Linked DNA regions of Homo sapiens: regions 1, 2, 3, 4, 5 and 7 are each linked to region 6. The links are contacts of gene promoters, found by promoter capture Hi-C in blood cells and fetal thymus (Javierre and others, 2016). All regions are on one chromosome and are shown on one strand. The core of a region is centred on a gene start or on the middle of the fragment in contact, and the rest is flanking DNA. Distances in the headings are between cores, read along the strand shown. Region 1 overlaps MTSS1 (MTSS I-BAR domain containing 1). Region 2 overlaps MTSS1 (MTSS I-BAR domain containing 1). Region 3 overlaps MTSS1 (MTSS I-BAR domain containing 1). Region 4 overlaps MTSS1 (MTSS I-BAR domain containing 1). Region 5 overlaps MTSS1 (MTSS I-BAR domain containing 1). Region 6 holds the start of ZNF572 (zinc finger protein 572). Region 7 holds the start of LOC124902016 (a long non-coding RNA gene).

The links. Contacts are between HindIII fragments. The CHiCAGO score rates a contact against its expected background, and 5 or more counts as called.
Region 1: a contact is called between a fragment that was not itself captured here and the fragment with the promoter of ZNF572 in region 6, in 8 of 17 cell types (naive B cells, total B cells, M1 macrophages and 5 more). The highest score is 8.9, in naive B cells.
Region 2: a fragment that was not itself captured here is called in contact with the fragment with the promoter of ZNF572 in region 6 in 6 of 17 cell types (megakaryocytes, total B cells, M1 macrophages and 3 more); the score reaches 8.2 in megakaryocytes.
Region 3: a contact is called between a fragment that was not itself captured here and the fragment with the promoter of ZNF572 in region 6, in 4 of 17 cell types (fetal thymus, monocytes, total B cells and 1 more). The highest score is 7.2, in fetal thymus.
Region 4: a contact is called between a fragment that was not itself captured here and the fragment with the promoter of ZNF572 in region 6, in 6 of 17 cell types (fetal thymus, naive B cells, megakaryocytes and 3 more). The highest score is 9.4, in fetal thymus.
Region 5: a fragment that was not itself captured here is called in contact with the fragment with the promoter of ZNF572 in region 6 in 1 of 17 cell types (naive B cells); the score reaches 6.1 in naive B cells.
Region 7: a fragment that was not itself captured here is called in contact with the fragment with the promoter of ZNF572 in region 6 in 10 of 17 cell types (naive B cells, erythroblasts, fetal thymus and 7 more); the score reaches 10.5 in naive B cells.

Annotation. Positions count from the first base shown.
Region 1 is chr8:124,664,015-124,668,265 of GRCh38, reverse strand. All of the region lies in intron 3 of MTSS1 (MTSS I-BAR domain containing 1), which reads left to right. Among named protein-coding and RNA genes, the nearest start is that of MTSS1, 62 kb to the left of the region's middle. The HindIII fragment of the contact is 3,711 bases long and covers 1-3,183 here.
Region 2 is chr8:124,706,442-124,710,071 of GRCh38, reverse strand. All of the region lies in intron 1 of MTSS1 (MTSS I-BAR domain containing 1), which reads left to right. Among named protein-coding and RNA genes, the nearest start is that of MTSS1, 20 kb to the left of the region's middle. The HindIII fragment of the contact is 2,003 bases long and covers 999-3,001 here.
Region 3 is chr8:124,626,350-124,630,362 of GRCh38, reverse strand. All of the region lies in intron 3 of MTSS1 (MTSS I-BAR domain containing 1), which reads left to right. Among named protein-coding and RNA genes, the nearest start is that of NDUFB9, 89 kb to the right of the region's middle. RefSeq lists enhancers at 261-555, 715-764, 1,938-1,987, 2,018-2,077, 2,886-4,013 and 1 more. The HindIII fragment of the contact is 2,938 bases long and covers 335-3,272 here.
Region 4 is chr8:124,645,843-124,649,923 of GRCh38, reverse strand. All of the region lies in intron 3 of MTSS1 (MTSS I-BAR domain containing 1), which reads left to right. Among named protein-coding and RNA genes, the nearest start is that of MTSS1, 81 kb to the left of the region's middle. The HindIII fragment of the contact is 5,497 bases long and covers 1-4,081 here.
Region 5 is chr8:124,690,331-124,694,534 of GRCh38, reverse strand. All of the region lies in intron 3 of MTSS1 (MTSS I-BAR domain containing 1), which reads left to right. Among named protein-coding and RNA genes, the nearest start is that of MTSS1, 36 kb to the left of the region's middle. The HindIII fragment of the contact is 3,218 bases long and covers 1,189-4,204 here.
Region 6 is chr8:124,971,055-124,975,310 of GRCh38, reverse strand. It overlaps ZNF572 (zinc finger protein 572), which reads right to left and starts at 2,016. Exons shown (of 3, transcript NM_152412.3): 1 at 1,895-2,016. RefSeq lists an enhancer at 1,914-2,073. The HindIII fragment of the contact is 4,233 bases long and covers 1-4,190 here.
Region 7 is chr8:124,605,475-124,609,199 of GRCh38, reverse strand. The region is part of intron 3 of MTSS1 (MTSS I-BAR domain containing 1); the gene reads left to right. LOC124902016 (a long non-coding RNA gene) reads right to left here and starts at 2,463. Exons shown (of 2, transcript XR_007061088.1): 1 at 2,103-2,463. RefSeq lists an enhancer at 1,518-1,867. The HindIII fragment of the contact is 806 bases long and covers 1,267-2,072 here.

The DNA.
Region 1 (4,251 bases), core at 79-2,578, 310 kb after region 6:
AGGGCACGTGGAACTGATTGTGCCTGTGAGAAAACAAAAAGCGAATCACCACCTTCCTACAGCCCACACGTGTGGCCGCTTGCGCTGTGTCCTCCTCAGTTGCTGGCCGGGCCTGTTGGCATCTTGGTTTTAGAGCCCAGCGGTGGAGGTGAAAGCCTTGGAGACTTTTTTTGTTTTTGTTTTGAGACAGGGTGGCGTCCCCCAGGCTGGAGTGCAGTGGCGCGATCATGGCTCACTGCAGCCTTGACCCTCTGAACTCAGGTGATCTTCCCACCTCAGTGGTCCCCCAGACCCCTGCCCTAGTAGCTGGGACTACAGGCCCACACCACCATGTCTGGCTAATTTTTTTTTATAGAGAAAGGGTCTCGCCATATTGCCCAGGCTGGTCTTGAACTCCTGGGCTCAAGCAATCCTCCCACCCTGGCCTCCCAAAGTGTTGGGATTATAGGTGTGAGCCACTGTGCCTGGCCGCTTGGAGACTTTGAATCTTAGCTCGGAGTGCAGTAGCTGTGTGACCTTGCCAACTGCAGATGCTTTTTAAGTCCCAGTTTCCTCACATGTCTGAAATGATAATAATACCTCCTCCCGGAGTTGTTGTTATTTATTTATTTTTTATTTTTTGAGACGGAGTTTCGCTTCTGTTGCCCAGGCTGGAGTGCAATGGTGTGATCTCAGCTCACCACAACCTTTGCTTCCCGGGTTCAAGCAATTCTCCTGCCTCAGCCTCCTGAGTAGCTGGGATTACAGGCATGCACCACCATGCCCGGCTAATTTTGTATTTTTAGTAGAGATGGGGTTTATCCATGTTGGTCAGGATGGTCTCAAACTCCCAACCTCAGGTGATCCACCCGCCTCGGCCTCCCGAAGTGCTGGGATTACAGGCATGAGCCACCACGCCCGGCCTATTGTTATTTTTTTTTTGTGGTAAAATATATGTAACATCAAAGTTACCATTTTAACCATTTCTGTCTTGGCCTTCTCTCAGAAACATGTCGCGCTTTCACAGTTGCCCTGAGAGGGTGCCAGAATCCATGCACAGCCCCAGGCCTGGTCCCCTGGTGAGCTCTGCATCCTCTGGGGAGAGCGCCTCCCCATGAGGGTCATGCCTTCTCCTCAAACTCACCATCTCAAATCAAATCCTAAGATGGGGGGAAACCCAGGGCGTGGCCATCTCCTCTCCCCTCCACCTGAATCCCAGCCTGCTTCTTAGATCTGTTCTTCTTTTCTTTTTATATAACTAGTGAGACTAGATTTGTCTTGGGTTCATTTGAACCTTTCCCTGCTTCTTAAATGGGAATTTTAATTTCTGTCCTTATTCCCGCTGGCTTCTTCAACTCTCCCCCTAAACTCCTCCATTGACCTCCTCCTCTCCCTACTGCTGATGGATTTTCTTTCCTTAGTTCAGATCTGATCACCCCTCTTCCCTCTTTGAAAACTCCCCAGGACCCCCATTAATGGTCACATGATAAAGCTCACTATCTGCCAACTGGTATGCTAACCCTCGGCCAGCTGGGCTCACTCTGCGCTGATGACCCCTCCTCATTCTCCCTCCACCCTCCCTATCCCATGACCAACACCCTATCACAGGGGCCCTTCATCTTTTTGGACCTCAGACCCCTTCAAGGAACAGACAGCTATGGACTGCCTCCCTAGAAAGGTACATAGTCACTCAGTTTTCCATTCAGTTTCAAGGGGTCTGTGGATCCCGGTGGCGAACTTAGCCGGATGCCCATGCTAGACCATGCATTCTAAGCCTCTTTGTCGTGGCTTGTGCCATTTTCTCTTATATCTTTGTTCCTTTGTCTTTGTTCCTGTGTTTCCATCAGTATTTTTCTTCAGTGCACTTTCCTGTCAGAGTTAATTTTTCCCTCTATCGTGCTTGTACAGCACATTACCAGAACATCTATTTAGCATTTGTATTAGAGTTGATAGTTTGCATGGCTGCCTTGCCCTTGTGTTCCTGAGCACAGTGCCTTGCATGTGTTATACACACAGTCATGTGTCCATTTATTCATTGATTCAACAGTTTCTTAAGCTCTTGTGAGCTAGCCACAGTGCTTGTCCTGGGGCTGTGCTAGGAAATATGATCCAGTCCCCACCCCAGGGAGATCAGTTTAATGGAGACTGTAAACAGATAAGCAGAATGTTATCATGCAGTGAGACTATTGAACATTTACTGTGTGCTGGGTGCTAATGAGCACATTGTATTAATATGTGTGTTGTCTCTGAATTCTCACAACAGCTTTGTGAAATAGGGTCTAATATTTTATGGATGAAACAATGGAGACCACAGCTAGGTTAAGTAACTTGCCCAAAATCGTGAGACTCATCAGCAGTAGAGTGGAACTTCAACACTGTAGACTGTCTCTGGGGGCCAGATTTTTTTTTTTTTTTTTTTGAGAAGGAGTTTCACTCGTATTGCCCAGGCTGGAGTGCAATGGCACAATCTCAGCTCACCACAACCTCCGCCTCCGGGGTTCAAGTGATTCTCCTGCCTCAGCCTCCTGAGTAGCTTGGATTACAGGCATGCGCCACCACGCCTGGCTAATTTTGTATTTTTAGTAGAGACGGGGTTTCTCCATGTTGGTCAGGATGGTCTCGAACTCCCAACCTCAGGTGATCCACCCGCCTCGGCCTCCCAAAGTGCTGGGATTACAGGCATGAGCCACTGTGCCCGGCCTTGGGGGCCAGATTTTTTTTATAGCTAGGCTGTCTGAGATCAGCCTGGCCAAGCCAGGGCCCTGTGAGAGGCCAGGAGAAAGAAGAGAGGAGAAAAGCCAGGTGGAAATCACCAAAGTCTTCCTGGAAGAGTATGAAGAATTGGGATGAAGACAAAGTAACCAGGGGCCCAAAGGTGAGACTGAGCGAGTGGGTGAACTGTGGATGAAATGTTACGAACTCAGGTCTGCGGAGATGGAAAAAGGAGAGAAGGCAGTGCCCACGGAATGAATCGAAGAGAAAAATAGAATTAGTCACTGAACAGATTATCGAATTGAGCAAATCTTTAAAGAATTCCAAAGATAGAAATGTCTTGGACACAGCAGGACTAATTTTTGTTTCAACATTGGAAGGCAGCCCTGCTTCTTATTATAGACATGTTCAAATAGTTTAAGTGCTGGTTACTGACCAGATTATCTGGTACAAACATTTATATTACAGCAAGTTACTTACCCTCTCCAAGCTTAGTGTTCATATGAATAAGATGGGGATAAAAAAAATGCTTATTTCCTCAAATCCAAGAACTATCAATTTAGTTGTACCTTTAGTTTATGTAGCACTAAGGAAAAAAAAAATCCTGCCAACTAAAATATGAAATGCCTTTCAGAGTTGTTAACATGTCGGGGGGAAAGAATGAACTGTAAAATGGATTCTAGGATTGGTCTTAGAAACAATGAAATAGAATAGTCTACTTCCTAGTGTTACTGTGAACAGTGCCAGATGTGTAGCAGTTGCTCACTGTATTTGATGATGAGGATGGTGGTGGTGACGGTGGTAGTGTTTGTGTAGAAGGAAACAGGCCTGGAGGCTGAAGCAACTATGACTTGATGTAAGCAAAAGCTACTAGTCAAGTGCTCTCGTTGCGGATTTTGCTATTTTAGAGTAGAGGGGTCTCCTGACACACAAGAGCCCTGTTGCCTGCAATTCTATGTTACCAGAGGCTGTGAGTGTGTATGCTTTTAGGTATAATATGACCAAGTGGTCATATGCCTATTTAAAACCTAAGGGGAAATGAAGGGCTCAATTTTAGAGTGTGGCTTCTAATCTTGTGTGCTCCTAAACTCTGGTCTACATACTCCCAACGATTAAAGAGACATTTTGCAACCTGAAATGGTTGGGTTCAGACTAGAATGCTTGGGTGCTACCAAATTAAAGGCCAGTAGGAAGCTACTTGGAGAAGCAGCCTCTGGCACTGTGGTAGAGGAGCATTTATCTAGAGACGGGCCTCGCTGGAAGGAGATAGCCACGCCTGTGTCTCAGGAGACTTTAATTAGGGCCATTGGCTTGGCTGCCCCATGATGACAGGTTGAACTTACGCCTGTGGTTCTAAGTCATGAAACCACCCCTGGGAACAGCCCAGCAGAACCATGGGTGGCACCTCCAAGGACTGGAGAGGGGGTAGCCCTGCAGGCGCTGGCTTCTGCCTGCTGGCTTCCAGCTGCTCCCTCCTGGGGTTCCCCACCTGGACCTCACCTGCTTCTCCTGCTGAAGTGTCTTCTCACCGACCTGGGCACAGGTTACTTCTGTGCTGTG
Region 2 (3,630 bases), core at 751-3,250, 270 kb after region 6:
TTTGTGTCAGCTGCACCCCCTACCAGAAGTACTTTTCCTTCCTCCCTTCATTTCTCAGTCCTTGTTCCACAGTCCAAAGGGGAAGCCCTCAGGCTTATAGACAGCAAACTGTATGATGTGATAAGTTGGGGAGTAGGTGCAGCTAAACCAGAGGGTAGGTGGGAAGGGGGTGTGTCAGAGAATGTTCCAGAAGAAGTGTCACAGCTGGGTAGTGACAGCTGAATAGGAGTTTTCAATATTGCTGAATCCCCCTGGAGATTTGAAGAGAAGCAGCCACAGGGTGTGGTGTGTGTGGGGAGTGTGGGTGAGATCACGTGTTCAGGGAAGCCCCATCTCTCACCCAAGGAAGTGATGGAGGGAGTCCTCTTTACACGCTTGTAAACAAACTGGCTTTCTCTTCCCGTTTCTTTAATAGGGACCTTTTCCTTTCTTAGAACCCAGTGTAATCTGAGTTGTATTTTCAACGAACGCACTGCCAAGGGCTCCAGAAACTCCTGGCTCTCCTCTCTGAAGAAATTCAGGGGGCTCCTGGAGGAGGTGCGCCTTCTCATTTTGCCTTGTGACTTTGGACTTGGCAGAAGCCGGGGCGTGGCGGGAGTTTTGTTTTCTTTGATTTGGGTCTGTCTGGAACGTTGTGAAGCCTTTATGTGTTCTCAGGTGAAATCCACAGTGGGGTCTGTGTTGAATTGTTTTCACGGCTCTGGGAGTGCATTCCGAGGGATTTCCTCAAATGGGGACAGAGCTCAGCCAGCAACCTCAGGAATGAACTTTCTGGGGACTTCTTGGTGGGTGGATGCAGATGCAAAAACCAAGGACAGTTGGGGAATTGCTTTCTAAAGGGCTCTAAGAGCTTCCAGTGTCTTGGGTTGCGGGTTTCTTTTGAAACTTGAGTATGGTCTCCTTTATGTAGTCTTGCTGTCCAAAAGGCAGGACTTTTTCTCTGCTGCCTTTCAATCTTTCTAGTTACCTTCTTCCTCCTTTCTTACTTCCTCTAAGCTTGAATTATTATAGTAAAACTGCTCTCAGGTGGGTAGAAACTTCTTTTTTCCTTGAAAGAAACTTACAAAAATATCTGGAACAACCCAACATCACTTTGCCTTTAAATTTTAATGACATTTACTCACTTTTTTTTTTTTTCATTTCTCAACAAGGAGGTTTTTGTCTTCTGTTCTTAGAAGTTGATTTTTTTTCTTTTTTTAGAATCTATTAAATTATATATTGCCTAAAACAGGTGGGCCTGACTCTCTCTGATAGACTGTCAAGTGTCATTAAGTCAGCAGCAAGCTACTTTGGGCAACCTTCTGGCTGGGTGGATGTTCGTAGGTGGGGAGCTGTTAGCTGTACCCCTTGACTAGAAAGGGGACCCCTCCTTTTGTTGCTAATTTGGTAAAGACTGAAATGACGCTCCAAGTGGGGGCAGATAAGAAGTTTCTTCAGTGGTTTGAGTAGTCGTCTTTTTCAGGCACACTCATCTCAGGGTTGAGTACTCCACCCTGCCATTTGCTTAGCAGCAGCAGAGAAATTGTCTGGCACTGAACACCCAGCTGCCTTTGCCTTGGTCTGTTTCTGCCTAACCCTGGTTTACTAATAGGGAGATGCAGATGCTTCCCATGTTGGCTGGTTCCACACCAGGTACTCTAAAAGGGGGGTTCCAGTCTGGATGGACAGTCTGACTTAGACTTTACAGTCTGTCCCCCACACATCCTAAAGGAGATTACTGAGAGCCTGTGGCCACTTGGATCCCTCATATCAAATGTTTGTTGAGCACTTCCAGTGTGCTGGGCACTGCACCGAGCACTTTCTGTATATGACCTCATTCGTTCCTCCTCTCAGCCCTGTGAAGATGTGACTTAAACCCATGCAGAGGTCAAATAACTTGCCCAGTGTCGCATAGCAAATGGGAGAGCTAAGGTTCAATCCAAGAGATTGGGCTTCTGTACGTGCAATCTTTATTCATCTCCTTCATTCTTTCAATGTTCAATAATTGATGGTATTGGTAATGGTGATGGAATTATTTGTTTTGGTTATCATCATTATAAGGGAATGATCCCTGAGAAGTGAAATGATTTCCCCTAGTCCATGACTGGCAGGGCTGTGACTAGACCTCAGGACCCAGTGCTCCCTGCCCAGGCCACTGGCCAGTTCTGCATGTTCTCGATGAACATGCCTCACCTTTTCCTTTGGCTTTGTTTCTTTGAGACAGGGTCTTGCTCTGTTGCCCAGGCTGGAGTGCGGTGGCACAATCACAGCTCACTGCAGCTTCGATCTCCCGGGCTCAAGGGATTCTCCCACCTCAGCCTCCTGAGTAGCTAGGACTACAGGCATGTGCCACAGCACCCAGCTAGGTTTTTTTTTTTTTCTTTTGAGATGGAGTCTCGCTCTTTCGCCTAGGCTGGAGTGCAGTGGTGCGATCTCGGCTCAATGCAACCTCCACTTTCCGGGTTCAAGCAATTCTCTGCTTCAGCCTCCCGAGTAGCTGGGATTACAGGTGCCTGCTACCACGCCCAGCTAATTTTTGTATTTTTAGTAGAGATGGGTTTCACCATCTTGGCCAGGCTGGTCTTGAACTCCTGACCTCCTCATCCACCTGCCTCCTAAAATGCTGGGATTACAGGCGTGAGCTACCGTGCCTGGCCTGGTGTTTTTTTTTTGTTTGTTTGTTTGTTTGTTTTTTTTTTTGTATTTTTAGTAGAAATGGGGTCTCGCCATGTTGTCTGGGCTGGTCTTGAACTCCTGGGCTCAAGTGATCCTCCTGCCTCAGCTTCCCAAAGTGCTAGGATTACAGGTGTGAGCCACTGCCCCTGGCCCACCTTTTTCTTAAGAAATACTTTGATCGTCTTAATAATATTTCTCCAGGGCTCCCTGGATGGGAGTGTTTGGTGTTTGGGAGAGGAGGGTCTGGCTCTTTGGTCCTTCTTCCTTGTGTAGCCGAGAGATGGTGGCACCTTTGCCTAGAAGTAGGTGAGCAGTGTTTCTGAATGCTCAGATTTCTCAGAAAGCTTTTCATCGTGTCTTGTGGCTCAGAAAGAGAAGGAATGGTCGGACGAAGCTGCTATTGGTTGGTTGAGCCTTTGTGTTCTTAGAGGTGCCAACTGCTGTCCCTCTGGACAGAGATCTCCAGTGGCCATCCTGAGGACTCTGATCTTGGCCCTCATCTCTTTAATTGGATGTAGGTGTACAAGGGGTGTTCTTATCTGGACTGGATTAAAAAAATGGTATGTATGTTGGGTGTCATAATTGGAGTCCCCACTATGTCTTGATGGGCCTTGAATGATAGCCTGAGCTCTCACAAGTTTTCATTTGACATAAATTAATATACAGTTCTGCTCTTGGGTGGAAGTAACCCCCAGGGCACACACTTGGGATGGAGGTCATGTCGTGACAAGACCCTCACACAGGTGTTGGTTGACAGTAGCTCAGGTGTAGCTGCCAAAGGGCCTCTGCCAGGAGCCAGCCAGACACGATTCTTGCCCGGCTGTTGCTTAGTTTCCCATAGGGGCAAATTGCCACTTAGAGGAATAAATCCAGAAACCTGTGCTTGAGCCAAGCAGGTCTCCAATGCATGAAGGCAGAACTGATGAATGTGGTGTAGCAGCATGCGTGAAACAGACTTTAGAGTTCGGGTGGATT
Region 3 (4,013 bases), core at 554-3,053, 340 kb after region 6:
TTCCTCCCATGTGGCTGACAGTCTGCTCGGGTAGCCCAGGCTGCTTGCCTGTTGGTGACTCTGTTGATGGATGGCTTGCCAAAAGATGTGGTGGCCCCCATTCAGCCCAGTGGCATGGGGTGGGCTTAGACTGGGGCCCTTTAGGGTCCACAACCTCTTTGGGCTCAGGGAGGAAATAGGTCACTTCTGAAGGTGACCTCTTCCAGGGGAGGTAGAGGGAAGTTAACTCTCCCTGGTCATTTAATTAAATGTAAATGCCTTTGGTCTAAAAGTTTTAAGCAATTTTACAAGATGAATTATATTCCATGGAGCAGGTGAAGTATTTCAAGAAGCTTCAGACAGGATTAAGCAAGCGGGGCTGACGCAGCTGGCTTGGCCTTGCCACATCTGTCCTCAGCGACTCAATTCTTTACAGGGTGATGAGTCAGCAGCCACTGGGCAGTAGCTCCATTTAAGAACGCACGGTGTGTGTGATATGTTTTTAAAAGATGACAGTTAAAATGATAAAGACTGGTTATTCGGATGATTCACTTTGGAAAGGCCCCTGGTTCTTCCCAGATGGAGGGGGGTGGCCTTGTGGTGTGGTGTCTGGGAGAGAGAACCCTCCCCTCAGGCAGGCTGTGGCCTCTGTGTGTTACGATGGAAACTACCTGTCCAGCCTCCAGCAGGACAGGAGGCCACTTAACGTTGGAGGCACTTGGCTGTCTCACCAACCAGGGATGTGGGAACTCGTGTTTCAGGTCTGTTTTAGGGAGAGGTCAGATCTCGGGCTTCAGAGTTAGGTACCGCTATAGCTAAGTATCCAGCTCCAGAATTTCTTTTTTCTTTTTCTTTTCTTTTTTTTTTTTTTTTTTTTTGAGACGGAGTCATTCAGGCTGGAGTGCAGTGGCGTGATCTTGGCTCACTGCAAGCTCCACCTCTGGGTTAACGCCATTTTCCTGCCTCAGCCTCCCAAGTAGCTGGGACTACAGGTGCCCGCCACCACACCTGGCTAATTTTTTGTATTTTTTTTAGTAGAGACTGGGTTTCACCGTGTTAGCCAGCATGGTCTCCATCTCCTGACCTTGTGATCCGCCCGCCTCAGCCTCCCAAAGTGCTGGGATTACAGGTGTGAGCCACCGCGCCTGGCCATCTAGCTCCAGAATTTCTTAGCTGTGTAACTTTAAGTGGCTTAATCTCCTTAATTCGAGCCTTAGTTTTCTCATCTATAAAATGGGGGTGATGATAGTGCTTATGCACAGGGCTGTTGAAAGAATGAAGATGAATGAATGAATGAATGTGTACACAGAGCTTAGGCCTAGGCCTGGCTCATGAGTGCCCAGCACTTGTGAGCTCTCATGATTAACTCATTTCCCTCCTGCCCCAAGGACCCTCTTGGGAAATAAAACCTCCCTGAAGATACTTTGGGATCCTGTAAAATCCGTGTGTGTTACTTTCAGGGTCTGCTGTGGTGTAATGGAAGAAGTGCAGACTTCGGAGCTAGACACCACCTGGCTTTGAGTCCTAGGTCTACCCACCTATGGCAGGTTTCTCTTAGCCTCAGTTTCCCCATCTTTAAAATGAGGATGGGCAATGAAGAATTGCCTCAGAGGGTTGTTGCGAGGATTAGATGAAATTACACAAGGTACTTCTTGGAGTTCCTGGCTCACTGTAGGCATTTAATCCATGCAACTTATTATTTAGCTGACAAAATGCCTATAATTAGATGTTAGGGAAATTGCTGTCATCGATGGGGAAAGTTCCCCAATGGAGTTGGAACTGTTGACTCTGCTGTCCTGGCTTCTCCAAGTCCTGCCATCATTTTCTTCTGCCCCTTCCCAGAGCACCTGCTGTGGGGGCTGGTGGGAGCTCCAGGTTCCACAGCTGAGCCGTGGGGAGCAGAAGACAGAGCTTTCCTGCTAATAAGGATCATAAATGCCAGCCCTGGGCTGGGCAAGCATCCTGCTGCCGGTTCATATCACTGGATTTAGCATCCTGTGGCGGTGGTTTAATTGGAAGAGATAATTGGTGCCGTGTCCTGGGGAGTATGATCTGGGAGTCGGATGATAAGACTGACGCGGCTGATGTCTTGGAGCTCAGACTCGCAGCCTGGGATGGGAAGCACCCGTTCTCAGCAAACTTTTGGTTTCTGTTTGTATTACTGACCTGCTCTGTACTTTTCATCACTGCTAGTTTGTTGCTGTTGTTGTTGTTTTTGAGACAGGGTCTCCCTCTGTCGCCCAGGCTGGAGTGCAATGGCACGATCTCAGCTCACTGCAACCTCCATCTCCCGGGTTCAAGCGATATTCCTGCCTCAGCCACCTGAGTAGCTGGGATTACAGGCACATGCCACCACGCCTGGCTAACTTTTGTATTTTTAGTAGAGACGGGGTTTCACCTTGTTGGCCAGGCTGGTCTCTAACTCCTGACCTCAAGTAATCTGCCCACCTCGGCCTCCCAAAGTGTTGGGATTACAGGCGTGAGCCACCGCGACCAGTCACTGCTAGTTTTCTATCTGTAAGAGTTTTTATGGGAAATAGCAATGCCACAGTTTTCTTTCTAAAGCGCAGTTCACACTGTCTCCCTGTGCTTCTCTCCCGGACTCCCTATGGCCTGTGGAAGCTCAGGCTGACCTTTAAGGCCTTTCACCCTCCTAGCTGAGCTTCCTCTTCTTACATTACCCTTTCAGTGATCCCTGGGGGACCCCCCCGCCACCCCTGGCCATCTCCCAGGGCTGCTTAGTCTATGATCCCATCGTGTCTGCTCCATGAATTCTTCCTGACACCCTCCTCTACTTTCCCGGTCTTATATTGTCTCTGTCTCCTTGGCTGTGGCCCTGTGCTGTGGAGGAAGAGTTGAGAACAAGGGATTTGAAATCTGATAGCCTTAGTTTGAATCCTGGCCTCAACATATTTTCCCTTTGTGACTGTGGATCAGCAACTTAACCTGCGTGAGCCTTGGTCTCCTCCTTTATAGGATAGATGCCTGCCTTGAGGGTTGTGGAGAAGGTGAAATGTTGAGTACCTAATGCATGAAGTGGCACTCAGTCAGTGTTAGCGAATGTAACGATTATGCCCCAGTTTCTCACTGATAGCCAGCCCTCATCTTTTGAGTACCAACTTGATAACTAAATTGAACCAGGTTTTTAAACACTGTAAGATGATTCCAGTTTTTTAGATAGCTCAGAGGGCCGTGGGGACACCAGGGTCAGAGGCCAGAGGTACCAGGTTGCAGGGGAGGATAAGCACAGCCTTACCTTCTCTTTTGAGACCCTGGTGGCAGCCTTGGAAGCTTTTCTCGGTGCAAACTTTGGTGTGAGCCACACAGCTGCTGCCTGCTAAATGGGAATGTGCACAGGACTCGAGGAATGAAGCAATGTTGCGTGACAGGTTCGTGTCCAACCCCTGTGTGCAGGCTGGGCAGGGGCTGGGTGCGGGCTGCTGACTCACCAGCTGCAGTGAACAGGACCTGCCTTGGGAGACCTTTCCTAGTGTTGGGGCAGCGTATATCAGGCTCTGTGACCGTCACCATGGAGATGTGATTCTTGTTGCCTTTTCCTTTTGTCTGTTGCAGTAGAGGCTGGTGTGATGCCCCTAGGAAGAAACCTGGAACCCAGAGTCCCAGACAGAACTTGTAGCGGCCTGCTGATTGGTCCTCACTGCACCGTAATCATTTCTAACCACCCCATTCCCATGACCGGGTGCACCTCATTATCTCCTCCCAAGGGCAGGTTGAATGCCTCCCCACAAACCGCCTTGTTGAATGGAACCTTACTAGATCCTCATCCCACACTCTGCCCCCCTCCAGCCCAGTGGATAAGATTGCTATTTCTGGATTTAATGTTTCTCAAAATCCTTTTGACTGGAGCTACTTTGACTATAGGATCATGTTTGGTTTTTTTATTTTTATTTTGAAGCATGGGTCTCTCTAGGTTACCCAGGCTGGTCTTGAACTCCTGGGCTCAAGCTATCCTCCCACCTCAGCTTCCCGAGTAGCTGAGATTACAGATGCGTGCCACCATGCCTGGCTTATAG
Region 4 (4,081 bases), core at 316-2,815, 320 kb after region 6:
AGACCCTGGGTGACAATGCTCTTAGTCTTTTCCATATCTAGGAGGCTGCCGTAAGTTTGATAATTGAAAGATTCCAACCTGAAACAGCTCAGTGTTTTTCCCCAAGCACAAGAACATTAAGTCCTGACCTTGTGCCTTTCTATGACTCAACACAGAGAGAGCCTTGCGTCCTTTCTTTTGGTTGTCGTGCTGAGTCTATGATCTTTTCGAGGTCATAGCAGTAGGAACCTTAATGACTGAAGATGAGTATTGCAGGGATTCACATTAGTCCTGTGTTCTTTCTTGAGTAACAGTGGTCAGTAGGGTCATTACCATTAATGGAGCACCTTGAGGAGTAATTTGCCTGTGCCGGGAGCTTTTTGTGTACTCTGTCTTGGCTGACCCTCAAGACAGCCTTGTGAAGTAGGTATTGATGCCTGAATTGTATAGCCAGAGGTGCCAAGGCTCGCCAGGGTCATGTGATTGTCACGAAAGCTGGTCAGGAAGCATAGCTCCCATCTCAGCGCCCCCGACTCCATCGCTGCTCTGTGCTGGGGGTTTGTTCAGGGAAGGGCTGCTTCCTGCTGATAATGATGGACACCTCTCCTTAGAGGTTTCCATGCTTTGTACCACACAGGGAAAACTTTTACTGTGAAAGGCCACACAGTCAATATTTTAGGCTTTGCAGACTACCGTCTCTCTCACAACCACTCAACACTCCCATTGTAGAGCAAAAGCAGCCCTAGATAATAGATAAACAGATGGCCCTGGCTGTCTTTCAATAAAACTTTACTTACAGAAACAGGCAGTGGGCCGGATTTGGCCTGCTGCCATAGTTTGCCAGCTCTTGATTTAGGGTTTGGTCTAAATGGAAATGGTTATTGTTAATACTATTATTTTTGGAAAGTTTATGAAGGATGGCAGGTTGCCCACAACAGATAGAAAGGGAAACTCTCTGTTTTGGAGAAGATTAATCTGGATCCATTCCTACTTGGAGTATGTCTCATAGAGGCTGGATGTTGTAGAGCTCCTTGAGGGTAGTCCCGGGTGGACCCCATAGTACTCGATGAGTGCAGACCTGGGCCCAGTGGGCATTGGATAAAGATGGCATTTTCATCATGGCGTACTGATGGCCTTGTGGTGTCCATCTCACAGCAGTCCCCATGGCCTTGGATTCTCACATTTTCTCACTTACCTTTCCTTGGAACACCGTCTGGTCAGTATCTGGGGGGGGGCTGCTATTTGGGATGAAGACTCTTCCTATAATCCTGAGCCTGAGAGGAGAGAGTAGGGAAACGGCTGGACTTTCTTGGAGTCACTGTGCTTCCCACCAACTTTGATGTGGAGACCCCCAAGCCTTTCCAAGGTAATATATCTCTGGGAAATAGGGCTCCCTTTTACAAATGCTGGCTTTATCCCTCTACTAAGGAGCTGTGATGGGCTGCTTTGGGGGCCTGAGGAGTTAGGGGAGAGAGGGCAAAGTGAGCTTCCAGTGAGACGAAATTCATTGTTGATGTGGTGCTGCTTGGAGGATGTGAGGTTTTCTTAAGCAACTCCTTATTTTGTAGCCCACCCAAAACTTTTGTAACAGAAGAGAGCTAAAGTTAAACTGCACCCAAAGAGTCCATTGTTGGTGTGTTGAAATACTTAAAAAAAAAAATTCAAAAACACTAGGTAATAGTAACAACAAACCCTTTCACCGGATCACTCATCTGCTTCTGAACATCAACTCATAATCTTTGGAGCAACTCTGGTAGCTCCTTGGTATTCTTTTGCCCCAGTTTTTTCCTCTGTTAATAAAAGGCTTTGAAATGCTGGGATGGGGTGAGTCTTGCCACCTCTTGATTTCAGACATTAATAAAGAAGCTGATGGTCCATGCCCACCATAAATAGGATTGCAGAGGCTATAGAGGCTAAATCTGCTTTAGGCCTGCTGGTAAACTGTATTCCCCTTGCTACTCTTGAAACGCTAGGTTGATTGGAGACATTTGTTTTTAAGATTGAGTTCTCTCAGGACATGACCCCACTGTTGGTGATGGGTTGGATCACACAGCCCATGGGGACCTGTAGGTGGCTCCAGAGGTTCTTGTTCGGCCTCTGATTTTAGAGAGTTCTGGATTTTAATGCACATGACTTATACCTTGATCCTGTGTCCTGTTATCAAGGATACGTCTATATAGTCATTCAGGTATTTCAAGGAACTTGAATTGCCTTGCTTATTTTTATAGCTGACGAGCTGTAACAATTGAAGAAGTGAGAAATGATTTAATTCTTTTGAAATGAGCTAAAACATGATGGAAGAAATAGTAATATTTCAACATGCCACACATCTTTTTTTTTATATTAGAACATGCTTTATTGAGGATAAACACTGTTGTTAGCTAAAAGTACAAAGTTTTAGGATGAATAAGTTGTGGAGATCTATTGTATAGCATGGTGACTGTGGTTAATAAGAAGACTTGAAAATCTCTAAGAGATTAGATCTTAAATGCTCTCACTACAAAAAATATCTTAGTCGTTTTACAACATATACATTCATCAAAACATAGCATGTATACTGTTAACACATAACAATTTTAATTTCTCAGCTATACCCTTAATAAAGCTAAGGGGAAAAAAGAAACTTTGATATCTAACAAATTCCACCCAAAAGAATCGTATTTCATAAAAAAACTCTAAATCTAGATGTATCCAAACATGAATTACTCAGCACATACATAAGACATAAATAGTATGAAAATGTACTTTGAAGTAGTTTTTGAAAATGTAGGTAAATTCCTTTTATTTAAAGAGGAATGACTGCGTGGTGGCTCATGCTTGTAATCCCAGAACTTTGGGAAGCTGAGGCGGGAGGATCACTTGAGCCTAGGAGTTTGAAAGCAGCCTGGTCAACATAGTGAGACCCCATCTCTACAAAAGGAAAATTTAAAAATTAGCTGGGTATGGTGGCACATGCCTGTAGTCCCAGCTACTCAGGAGGCTGAGGTGGGAGGACCATTTGAGGCCAGAGTTCGATGGGAGGACCATTTGAGGCCAGAGTTCGAGGCTGCAGTGAGCCATGGTAGAGCCAGTGTACTCCAGCCTGGGTGACAGAGGAAGACTGTCAGAGAGAGAGAGAGAGAAAGATGTAATGGTGCAGATTTTTTTTTTTTAACCATGAGGAAAATAGCTTTTAGCTGCAGGTTATACAACATGTTTATTTAGTGAAAAATAGGTGATACAAATTTTCCTTCAAGATATTAAGCAGTAGCTTTCTAATGGCTCTGTTCTCTGTGGATGGTTTAAAACTCACGGGCATTTTGTCTTTTAAAGCACTTGAGAAACCCTGCTTTCATCACATCCAAATTCTTCTGTCTTCTCAGTAATAGTTTAAGTTTCTAGGGATCTTGCTATTGCATTTCTTACAAGTTGTCTAAATTATGAAACTGTGGATATAACTTGCTTTTAAAAGTCAGTAGAAGTGTAAGAGATGCCTTATCTAAAGATAATTTGAGAAGCAGCAAGACTCAGTTATTCTTTGTGACCCAGGAAAATATTTTTAGATTTTTTAAATGAATGAATGGTAAATAAATGACTCTATGGTCATTTATTTACCAAGAGATGCTGATTAGATGGCAGTTATATTCATTATTACATGTTCTCCCGATTGTGAAGTGTTCAGTATGTAACTGGCTAAAGATGAGATGGCACAGCCATTGAAATAAAAGACTAAGGCTTATAATCCCATTTATAATCCCAGCCTTGCTAATATTCCAGTGAGATGGACAGAAGAAAACACAAAGGAATTTGATTCCTGGTTTCCCAAAGGAGCCTAGACAAGTTGAGGTTTCAGCGTGGCCCAGGAATGCCTTTAAAAAATGAGTTGAATACAATTTTTTAAAACCCTCACTGTCCATTAAGTGTTTTTAAAGTGTGTTTTATTTTACATACTTTTTTCTAAATAGACATTCACAGTGGAAAGGAGGGGAGAAATACAGCAGGAATAACTAGAATTCATTTGCATGAGCAGCTTCTGAAGGAAGATATCATAGTTTCTTTGAAATCGGGTGAGAGACCTTCGTGCCCTGAAAGAGCAAAGATTGTTGCTGTCACCACTTAAGCC
Region 5 (4,204 bases), core at 1,548-4,047, 280 kb after region 6:
TCCTGATTTTCAGTCTTAAAATCATGCCTACTTTTTAGGGTAACAAATTTAAGATTCTGGACATTAAAGATGATCTAGTCTGCCTGGGATCCATTTCCTTCCTTCTGAGAATCTGAAATGCCTTCCTCAGGCATTGGATGTATTACCATCTAAACTTCCCTGAGATGGTTGTTCAAAACCATGAAAGTAATTACAGAGGCAGATGAAAATGAGAGTCACACAACACTGCTCTTCAAAGGCCCTTGCTGACACAAGCAGATGGCACAGTGGCCGGGATGGGCCAGTGCTGACTAAGAGGGAGTGTGTCGTCCGCTCTGTACTCCGCGCAAGTCCCTGATGTGTAAGGGCACAGGCTTACAGGCGTACGAATTTTATTCCCCATTTTGATCCCATTTTGATTCTGAATGCATTAAAAAAAATCTGTGTAGCACAAAAAATAATCTATGTTGTTGAAATAACAAAAGTCTATATGCGGTAGTTAGAATAACAACTAGCTTGGGATCTGGGATACGTAGGTTTGACTTCGTGCCTTTGCAGCTATGTGACCTTGAGTAAATATTTCCCTTCTCTGGGCTTCCATTTTCCCACCTATAAAGGGCCTAGGAGCCTAGATCATCACAAGTAATTTTTTTTTGGCTCTAATATTCTATGATTTAAAATCTTGCCTTGGTTCTTATTAGCTATGAATGAAGTGTAAATTTCCTTTTCTATATTATCTTTAGAGCTTCCAATTTTTGCTCTGAGTACAAAGGAAGTGGAGGAAGCAAGATTAAGCCAAAGATAATGGAGAGAGAAGGTTAGAAGAGAAAAGGGAAAATTACAGATGGGCATTTGGGTTGAGGTCCCCTCTCAGACTTGGAGTGTGTGTAGGAGGAAGGCAGGTGGACGCCGGACCTTCTAGGACAGGCATCGAAGGCTGGTCCATCAGACATGCGCTTTAATCAGTGAGTCTGGATCGCCGAGGTTGGTGAAGCATGTTGGTGAAGAAAATTGCTGATGGCTTAGTTCTTACAAATGTGTTACACATTTGCAGTACAGATTTTGGTAAATGCCATGGTCTCCAGATCTGGCATTAGGCATCACAGTCACTCAAGAAGTTCACTTTAAGGGACAGATTTCAAGGCCCTGCCACTCCCATGGAATCAGAATAACTGGGTGAGACCCAGGAATCTCCAATTTTGAAAAGCTTTCCAGGAGATGTTGCTCTCCATTGAGGTATGTTTGTGCTGTCCTGTAAAGCCTCTTGCCATCTTGCCATAACCCACCTGTCCGATGACATCTCCCCACCCATGGCCGGCAACTGCACCCACAAAGAACTGCTCACTGTTTTCTGAAACCCTTAAAACCCTTGATCCCTATCTGCTGGCACATGTGCATTCCAGGCCCAGAATGTCCTTTCCAGCCCTCCCCTTCTTCACCCTGTTTGTATGCTTGAGGATCTGCTGCTTGTCTCCCAGGAGTTTAAGAGCTGTATCACTTGTGAGACCTTTGTCTTCCCTCAGGAAGTAAACTGGGTCCTTGCTCAGGGCCTCGGGGGACATGCTGGGGTCAGAGGATTCCCCTAGCTGTGCTGTCACTATCTTCCCCACCAGATTGGAGACACCTCTAACAGGACCTGCTCCTTCCTGAGGAACTCACTTTCCCAGATGCTGAGTATCTGGCCTTCAGCAGGGTGCAGACCCATCTGCTGAATGAACGACTGCGTGCAAACAGTAGCTTCCACTTTTATGCAGCCCTCATGGATCCTGGTGGGAAGCCCGTCAGTTCTCGAGCAAGGGGCTGTTGGGATGGGGTCTTGGCAGGATTCCTCCCTGGAGTTCAGAATTTGAATCTTGGTGACCCCTCCCTGAGGTCAAGTCTCTGGTGCAAAGGACAACTGGGTAGAAGGCACTCACCCTGCTTCATGGATGGAGTGGAGGAGGGGAGGGAATCTTTCCTCTGAGGGGAGAAGGTGCTGGGTTGTTTGGGTTCCCAGCTGGGTTGTTTCCTGGCTCCAGCCAGACTGCTCTTGTTTGCTCCTGAGTTTTATTTTAACCAGATTGTTTAATTGAGACTTCACTAGCCTTTAACTTCTGGATTGCCTTTGGTGTTCAAGCCCAGAACTCTTTCGTGTAATTAGAGTCTTACTATTTCTACCTAGCAAACTTTTTTTTTTTCTTTTTAAAAAGATTGATGCATCCACATGTTATGGGGGCACATATGATACTTTGATAAATTGATATAATGTGTAAAGTTCGAATCATTTGAGAGGCCGAGGTGGGTGGATCACTTGATGTCAGGAGTTAGAGACCAGCCTGGTCAACATGGCGAGATCCTGGCTCTACTAAAAATACAAAAAAATTAGCTGAGCTTGGTGGCGGGCCTCTAATTCCAGCTACTCGGGAGGCTGAGGCATGACAATCACTTGAACTCAGGAGGCGGAGGTTGCAATGAGCCAAGATCATGCCACTGCACTCCAGCCTGGGTAATGGAGTGAGACTCTGTCTCAAAAAAAAAAAAAAAAAATCAGGGTAATTGGGATATCTATCACCTGAAATATTTGTCTTCTTATTACTACTTACCAAACTCTTTAGCCTCAAACTGAAAACAATTTTTTTTCAAATTAAAAACATCATATAAAAGGCCCTTCTTTTAGGTCTGGAACTGAAAATTCTTTGAATATTACCATAAAGGAATGTAGTCAAATTTCTTCATTTGATTAAAAATAAAAAGGTATATCAGCCGGATGCGGTGGCTCACGCCTGTAATCCCAGTGCTTTGGGAGGCAGGGGCCGGTGGATCACTTGAGGTCAGCAGTTCGAGACCAGCCTGGCCAATATGGTGAAACCCCATCTCTACTAAAAATACAAAAATTAGCTGGGTGTGGTGGCGGGCATCTGTAGTCCCAGCTACTTGGGAGGCTGAGACAGGAGAATCACTTGAACCTGGGAGGCGGAGGTTGCAGTGAACCAAGATCGTACCATTGTACTCCAGCCTGGGCAACAGAGCAAGACTTGGTCTCAAAAAAAAATAAACAACTCTTGAAACCATCTAAACTGTATATATGTGTATGTGTTTGTGTACATGTATGTACGTATGTGTATCCATATACTTTTTATATTGAGCACTTTTTATAATCTCAATCTTACATAAAGTACAAATAAAATCTATAAAAATGATTGCTATTTATAATAATAGGCAACATAGCTAAAAACTGTGGTTATTATGTAAGCATATCTTCAAGATAAATTTTCCAGCTCCTAAGCCCTCCTATACACAGATTTTAGAGCTGCCATTGCCCTAGTGGGAGGTGATGTAAAAAAAATATTGTTTTAAATGGGTTTGTAAATGTACAGTCTGCTTTTGGTCTCATCATTTTGGTGTTTTTCCACTTCAATTTGTCTTGCGTCATTTTAATTTGTTAGCACAATGTATTTAGTCATATACGTCTGCTATGAATAAAACATCTTTTTAAAAATGGCCCGGGCATGTGAAGTTTGTCTTACGATTCCCCATTTTTTTTAAAGCTGTCATTGTTTGGGGTGTGCTTTCTATGAAACTTCAGACTTTGTGTTGAGCCCAGGACAGTAGGGTGTCATGCATTTTTAGCATTTTTACAACTCATACTATACATAAGAACTAGAAATAACAAATGAATCTGTATATTTTTAAAGAGTGTTTTTATTTTATAAATTTAAAAAAATACCTTGTTTTTGATGTTTTTCAGTTGATGGAGTTATGGTTGCTTATGTGTTTGATTATTTTGACGGGCAAGTACGTATATTTAGGAGATTTGTAACCATGAGCCTAGCATTACTGCTGATAAAACGAATCCCTCCTTTCTAATCCCATTGCTCTTTTCTTGATGTAAAAACTGATGCCTGGCGACAGCACTGTTCCCCATTTGACAAGTGGCCTTTTATTATTGATCTTTGGTTGGGTAGCAGCAGTTGCCAGAGAGAATTGTTCATTGTGGTCAACCAGTGCTCCTGCCTCAGTCGTGTTTTGCTTTTAACCATGTCTTCCTGGAATGACACTTGAAAGGGCAGTCATCATGTGTTAGCCCAGAATGAACTCACCGGAATCCCACATTTACCAAAACATATCCTGGATCCTCAGGGCAGGATGTCACCAGAATTCTATAATCCTCCAGCAGGGACAGTGAGGGATATCAGAATTCCACACCCAAGCATGTGTGTCTGTCCTGCTCAGGATTGTCTTACCC
Region 6 (4,256 bases), core at 767-3,266:
AAACACTTTTACTTTAAAAAGCAAAGTATTTTTTTTAAGACACCAATAATAAAACTTATAAAGACTTCAAGGAATCAATATGAAGGCATAAGCAGCAGCTAAAGAAAAAAAGCACCCTGTTTAGTTTCAAAAGAATAACTTGGTCTTGACAGAAGGAAACCTTTGAAGTCAATTTCAAAGGAAAGTTAGGATTTATATAACCAGTAAAGAGAAATTAGGACAAAGCCGAGGTGGAATAATTATAGCCAATAACCCTGCAATATAAAAAGGAGGCTAAAGAGGGACCTCTTCCTCCTTGCACTTAGTTCCTAAGTCTATCATATTCACAATATCCATTTCAGCCTAAACTTCGTCTTCTGGAGCCAACAATCACTAACCTATTTTAAGGGACTAGAAAATGTTCCATCCTGGCTAATGCGGTGAAACCCCATCTCTACTAAAAATACAAAAAATTAGCCGGGTGTGGTGGCGGGCGCCTGTGGTCCCAGCTACTCAGGGGGCTGAGGCAGGAGAATCGCTTGAACCCAGGAGGCAGAGGTTGCAGTGAGCCGAGATCGTGCCATTGCACCACTCCAGCCTGGGTGACAGAGCAAGACTCTGTCTCAACAAAAAAAAAGAAAAAAGAAAAAGAAAAAGAAGAAAATGTGATCTATCACAGGAAGGCAGTGACATATGGACTTTTGGCATCCATTTCAGAATATAAAGAGTATCATTATTTGGGAGAAAAATAAGGACGTAAAAGGATATACAAATGCACACATTTTAAAAACAAAAAATAGTATATGTACTTATATTGTATCTTCACCATTACTGCCTATTATGTGCCAGGTAGTGAATGAAATAATTTGCACACATTTGTCATTTAATTCTTACAGTAGCCCTCTGAAGTGTATGAACAACTACCAGCATTTTATAGGATGAGTTTGAAAGGTATTAAGAAACTTTCCTAAGGTCACCTAGAAAGTGGTAGAGCAGGACTGAGCTCCAAGTCTGTTTGGATGCTGACCTTTTTCACCCTCTGATCTATTATCGTAAACTAGAACAGGAAGCAGAGCTGGGCATAATCCCAAACTGCAAAGAATCCTCAGAGTCCCTTTATTTTAGAATATTTAGAATACTGGCATTTTAAAACAGAGGTCTACATTCCTAAACCTTGTTAACAAAGTGAGTCGACATTCCCTAAGCACACTCAGCAAGTGGGGATTTGTTCTAGAGAAACGTGAAACTAGTCTACATTACTAATATCCCCAGTGTTTGAGTTGGGGGGGAGAAAAAACCATACACCTGAATGCAAAAAAAGGAAGGGGGTGGAGTTGTTCGAATGGAGTTATATATTTTGCTGTCCTAAGTTACATATTGTTATCAAAGTATTTACAAAAGCAGCAAGAGTCTGGGCAACACATTACCATCTCCCCCATTTTCCCTACTAAAATACTATTAAATTTGGCAGCAAAGGAGCCCCCGGAACAGTGGCTCAGCAAAATGGTGGCAAATGCAAGACCATACAAGGCTGCCATTAAGATGTCTCTCCACGGGGAAGGAGTGTTTTCACTGTTCTAGAGCAACAATGTGATCAGAGTGGGGCCGTGCTTTGATCAGAAAGCCTTCAAAGAAAATGCACTGCCTGAAGCCTAGTTTTAAGAACCGCTGGCTGGTACAAGTTGGAGACGCTGGGGGGTGAAGTTCCAGGATACCAGACGGTCTCCGGCCGACAAGATCCCGTAAGGGACCCCGCGGACAAGGATGACGGTGGCCCGTCGGCGGGAGATGCTGGGCCTTCGCCCCTGGCAGCAGCGGGAACTCTCTCCCGGACGTCCACTGCAGCCTGGACGGGGCTGTTTCCACTCCTCTAGCCCGCAACCCTCGGCTCCCTTCCCCCCAAGAAGGAACTCACTGTTCTGGGTGCTACACCCAAGGCGCCCTGCACCCCCAGCGGTCCGGGAGGAAGGTACCCCCTCTCCCTCTGACCCCACCAACCCAGGGTCCTAAACTCTCAAACCCGGAAGGCAGAAACAGGAAGTTACCCTCATCTCCCCCGGCGGCTTTGCTGGGGCCGTTCTAGGAAACAGTGATGGCCCACTCTCGTTGATCTTAACCCTTAGGGTCCTGGACCAGAAGGAGCGTGGGGGTGGATTTCCTTTCCCTGTGCTGTGACCAGCCAACTGTGAACCTCATTTCTCTCACTTGTCAGGCGGCTTACGACAGGGGCCTGATTGGAGCTTATACTTTTCCTTGCCATCAGAATATCATCAGATTAATTATCATCACTATTAGAATCAAAATCAATCTAGTATTTTTCTTTTTTGAGACGGAGTCTCGCTGTTGCCTAGGCTGGAGTGCAGTGGCGCGATCTCGGCTCACTGCAAGCTCCGCCTCCTGGGTTCACGCCATCCTCCTGTCTCAGCCTCTCGAGTAGCTGGGACTACAGGTGCCTGCCACCATGCCCGGCTAATTTTTATATTTTTCGTAGAGACGGGGTTTCACCGGGTTAGCCAGGATGGTCTCGATCTCCTGACCTCGTGATCCGCCCACCTCGGCCTCCCAAAGTGCTGGGATTACAGGCGTGAGCCACCGCGCCCGGCCTCAATCTAGTATTTTTAAACACCTATTGTTTCTGTTCCCACCGCTATGAACATGGATATATATTTACTTACCTGTGAAAGTTAGAAAGCTAAGGCATCCATTCACATATAAAACAATTCGTTTACAAGGCACCCTTATTAACACCTAGAAAAGTAGTTAATCCCTCCTCTTTCATTACAGAGAAAATAGAAGCCAATCCCTTCATCTCACCTCTACCAAACAGAAATCTACTCAAGTCTGCACCCTGCCGTTTTCTTTCTTCCCTCCTGTTACAATACAGAGTCCCTCTGTGACCTTTTTTTTTTTTTTTTTTTTTTTTGTGATGGAGTTTCACTGTGTCACCAGTCTGGAGTGCAATGGCAGGATTTCGGCTCACTGCAACCTCTGCCTCCCGGGTTCAAGCAATTCTCCTGCCTCAGCCTCCCAAGTAGCTAGGACTACAGGTGTGCGCCACCATGCCCAGCTAATTTTTGCATTTTTAGTAGAGACTGGGTTTCACCATGTTGGCCAGGATGGTCTTGATCTCTTGACCTCATGATCTGCCCGCCTCAGCCTCCCAAAGTGCTGGGCTCTTTGGTATTTTAATAAGCCCTTTACTGGTACTCACTTTCCTACCTATCTTCTTGGAAACTTCGCACTACCAACTAAACTCTCCATCCCTCCACCCCCATCCCCAAATAGTCCCTCAGCTTTTCTTTTCTCTTTTTACTCACAATGTTTCCATTTCATCAATTTTCCACTAACCTTAACATTTCTCCTGCAACAACAACAACAAAAAAATCACTAGCATCACCAATGACCTCCATGATGTTAGTTAGTGCAACTGGTATTTTTAGTTCTCGGGTCCTTTTTCAGGAGGTTTGATATGGCTACGGACTCGTCTTCTAGAAACACTCTTTTGAGGTGACATCACATTCTCCTCCTTTTCTTCCAACATCTCTAGTCAGTCCTGTTAGTCTCTTTTCCAAGTCAGTCCCTCAAGATCATCCTCTCCTCTTATCACTGAATGTTCTCTGCCTAGGCAATCTCATCCACTCCCACATTTTCAAATACCACCTAGGCAGACAACTCAAAAATTTACTTCTCCAGCCCAAGCTACATGTCTGAGCTCTTCACTCATAACCAATGGTCTATTTGGCATCTCATACAGGAAGTCTCAATAACACCTCAAAACCAAAATGTCAAAAATCAAAATCATAATCTGTCTTCTCTCTCACTGTTCTTCTCCATATACACATATAAACACAAAATAAAACAAAATAAACCTGTTTCTCTTCCAATATTCTTTCAACCATCCATCCAGTTATATGGAAACCCAGAAGCCCTTCTTTTCACTTCCCTTTCCTTACCTTCCATATACAATTCATAAATAAGCCTCATCTGTTGTGTAATAAATAATTCTCACCTGTAGTTGTTTCTTCTAACCACCAGGGTCACCTCTAATTCAAGCAACCATCACCCCCCATTTGAAGGATTTCCATACCCTCCTAACAGTCCCATAGATACCCATCCTTGCTCCCTCTCATTCACTCTTCCCTGTTGAATCCAGAGGGATCTTTTCCAAAAATGAACCTGATTCTTCCATGTTCCTTTGCCTAATTGAAGCTTACTCATCCTTCAGATTTCAGCTTACACATCACTTTCTCACAGAAGCTTTCAAGGCTCTTCTACAT
Region 7 (3,725 bases), core at 420-2,919, 370 kb after region 6:
TAGTGGTGCAACTGGCAAACAGTCATATTTACTGTCTCAGGACATCCCGTCAGCTGGATTTCACCTGGCAGGGGCTCTGTGTGGTGATGATGTTCTCAGGGAGCTGGGGAAAGTATTCTGGCTGGTGAAACATTCTAGCCCCTTTCACTCCAAGTGTGGTTGGTAGTCTAGCAGCAAGTCAGTATCTTCTGGGAACTTGTCAGATATGCTGAATCTCTAGACCTTCTGGATCAGAATCTACATTTTAGCACAATTTCCTGGTGATCCTTGTGTATACTGAAGTTTAATAAGTTGTGTCTTGAGCTCTCTTTTGAGATCCTAGGCCCAGGGTAGCAAATACAGAGTCTGCATCCTTCCACTGTCCTGCGGTTGTAGCAGACATTACTAGCTGATCTAGCCAATCCATTTTCCATCTAGCGCATAGCTGCCCACAGCACCCTCCACACAGTGCCCCAGGCATCCATACACCTGATCAGAATTAGCCCAAGAGATAAACTGATTTACCATCCTTGCCTTTGTCTATGAAGAGCTCATTCTAAAAAAGTAACTAACATAAAAAACAAGGAAACAGCTGTTTGCATAGGCCTTAAGTGTTGGGAATTAGGACCCCCATCATACCCCAGGGCAGTGGGAAGGAACACTCAGGCCCACTGCTTGAAAAGATGTCGGCAACCTGAACATGCACAATACAGTGGCGATAAACCAGACCCTACTGGTTCTCTGCAGTTGGGCAATGACCTTGTCGGAGGAGGCGAGGCCATGATATTGCTGGAGGAGGCGAGGCCATGATGTTACCCTGGCTCCAGTGCTCATCCATGGGACATGTGGTCAGCCCCTGTGTCCCACAATCCCATTGCCTTCTGGCAACTTCCTAACTGATGACTGAGCCACAGTCAGGTTTCAGTCATTCATTGGTAGTTATTCTTATCTGCATTTTGTTAGAAGAACACAGTTAATAAAGTGGGTGTGGGGAAGAAAACAGTGCAGGAGAAGGAGAACTGGAAGAGGAACCAGAGTGGCTTGAGTTATCTAGTAAAGTCTTCATTACATGATGTGACCAGCTCTCAGAGGGGCATCTAATACAGAGCAGTTTAGTTTAACCTCAGAAGGTCATCAGGGTGCTAGAATCATGTCCCATTTTCATGGTAATTGGGCAAGACTGGGAAAATGTTTTGGGAATACACATTTTATCTTCCACTTCCAGCAGTGGCTTCTAACCACTGAGGACTCTCCACGTTACCAATCTCTACTGACCTACCTCAAGCTTTGTAAAATCTTATTTACCGAACAAATTACATTTTTAAGTAATAATTAAGCCCCCCCTTTTCTGTAGAGATATATAATAACTGTTAACCTGGGGTCATTTTTATCGGGCTTTATATAATTCCAACAGAAAGCAAAGGACTGTGAGTGCTTAAGTTAGCCTGAGCAGTAAAGAGGCTTTTAGACCTACTGAGAATAGTTTTTGGATTCACATTACCACTGCTTGACCTGAGACTCGATTTGGGAGCTAGAAACTAAAACCAGTTATGCCCTTCCATTGAATAGATGGAGGCTGGGAGGCTCGGGCTTGTCTAGCTTGTAGGGACTCAAGGGCACTTTGGTCGTGTCACGGTGCTGCTTTCTCTCCTGCGCAAGCCTCATACTTGCTTTCTCTGTTGAATGGTAAAAGCCAGCCTCTTGTTTGCTATTCCGGGGTTAGAATTTCAATTCCTTTTTTAAAAACTCTGTTTAGATCAGAAACCATCCAGACACTCATTCAGAAACCATCTGGGGAAGGTATGACTTGAGATAGAAATTGAAGAGATAGAGAGGAGGAGAAGAAGATAGTATACGAGTTAGTTTAAATGACCCCAGATGAGTTTGGCCGGGAAATCAACTGCAGAATGCATCCTCTGTCCCTGGCCTGTATCCCTCAAGGGCCTTTGATAGAGTCTTGGCTTAGTTGCAGCCACTTTTCCTCTAGAACTTTAACTCAGTAAAGGTGTGCAGTAAAAATGGGGAAGAGGGATGAGGAGGAGCCAGGAGAGAATCGAGGAAGAGCAAATATTACGAGCGTAGAACGCGAAGCTTGGCATGTCTGCCTGGTTCCACTTACTCACGTTTGTTGAGCTCCTTCTATGTCTGAAGCTGTTTCTAAAACGTCAGTTTCTAGAAAACAGGATCCTGAATTCAGCTAAGCATGATTCCCAGGGCCATCCCTGGGAAGCTGTCCTGAAGATGCCTCCTGCTAAGACAGGTTGCGGAGGGGAGTCAGTGGCTGAAAGGGTGATTTCAGGATAGATTGTCCTGGCAAATAAGGAGGGGTCCTCTGCATGAATAAGCAGTGTACCCTGCCAAAGGAAGCTGGCAGGAGGTGATTCCTGCTGAAGCCTGACAGTACATGTCCACCCTGAACTCATGGCCTTGGATGCAGACCGGCCAACTGTACACAGTTGAGCGAGGAAGTGGCGACAGCACGGTTTGAATCTGGCTGATAAAACAGATGTTCGGGGGAAGGGCTCTTATTTTCTCCCAGTTATAGGATCGGGGGTGGGGGAAGAAAACCTAATTCCCTATCTGCCAAATGTTTCTGTTGGTAATGTCCTGGCAACAGTGAGATGCCCCCAAGAATGGAGTGGTTGAAAGTTCTAGCTATCGACTCAGCCCTGGATGTAAATTCTGAATTCTGTGTGACCTTGGGCAAGTTACTTAACCTCTCTGAGTACCCTTGGCCTCATCTGTAAAATGAGGATAATGATACCTACTTTTGGCGGGGTGCAGGGGCTTGTGCCTGTAGTCCCGGCACTTTGGGAGGCTGAGGCAGGTGGATCACTTGAGATCATGAGTTTGAGACCAGCCTGGCCAACACGGTGAAACCCCGTCTCTACTAAAAATACAAAAATTAGCTGGGCGTAGTTGTGGGTGCCTGTAATCCCAGAATCGCTTGAACCCAGGAGGCAGAGGTTGCAGTGAGCCAAGATCATGCCATTGTACTCCAGCCTGGGCCACAAGAGTGAAACTCTATCTCAAAAAAAAAAAAAAAAAACAAAAAACCAAACACAGAAAACACAAAAATTAGCTGGGCATGGTGGCACATGCCTGTAGTCCCAGCTACTTGGGAGGCTGAGGCACAAGAATCTCTTGAACCTGGGAAGCAGAAGTTGCAGTGAGCCAAGATCACACCACTGCACTCCCAGCACTCTAGCCTGGACAACAGAGTGAGACTCTGTCTCAAAAAAAAAAAAAAAAAAAAATGAGATACCTACTTTATAATGGTACCTATAAGAGGAGTATAATGAGATTTTAAAAAAATGAATACAACATTCCTGCAAGGGTTTGTCATGTTGCAAGCACTCAGTAAATGGGAGCTATTCCTAATAATATGAAAAACTGCAAGATTACCTCCTAAGAGATGATAAAGTCGCTATATTCTGGCATAGTTTGGGGATGTACAGAAACCTCTTAAAGGAATAAAGTAGCTCTTAGGCCAGTGACACATGCATGAAACCTGATTTTAGGTGCTAGCGGGTTCAAGGATAGATGTTTATCACAGGGAGTTCTGATCTCCAACGGGAGCCCAGCGCGAGGGCAGGGAGGGAGGCAGCGCGAGGGCAGGGAGGGAGGCAGCGAGAGGGCAGGGAGGGAGGCAGCGAGAGGGCAGGGAGGGAGGCAGTGCGAGGGCTGTCTCCGCAGAGTCCCAGCTTAGAGCCATCCCTTTGTCAGGGATAGATGTAGCAGGCTCT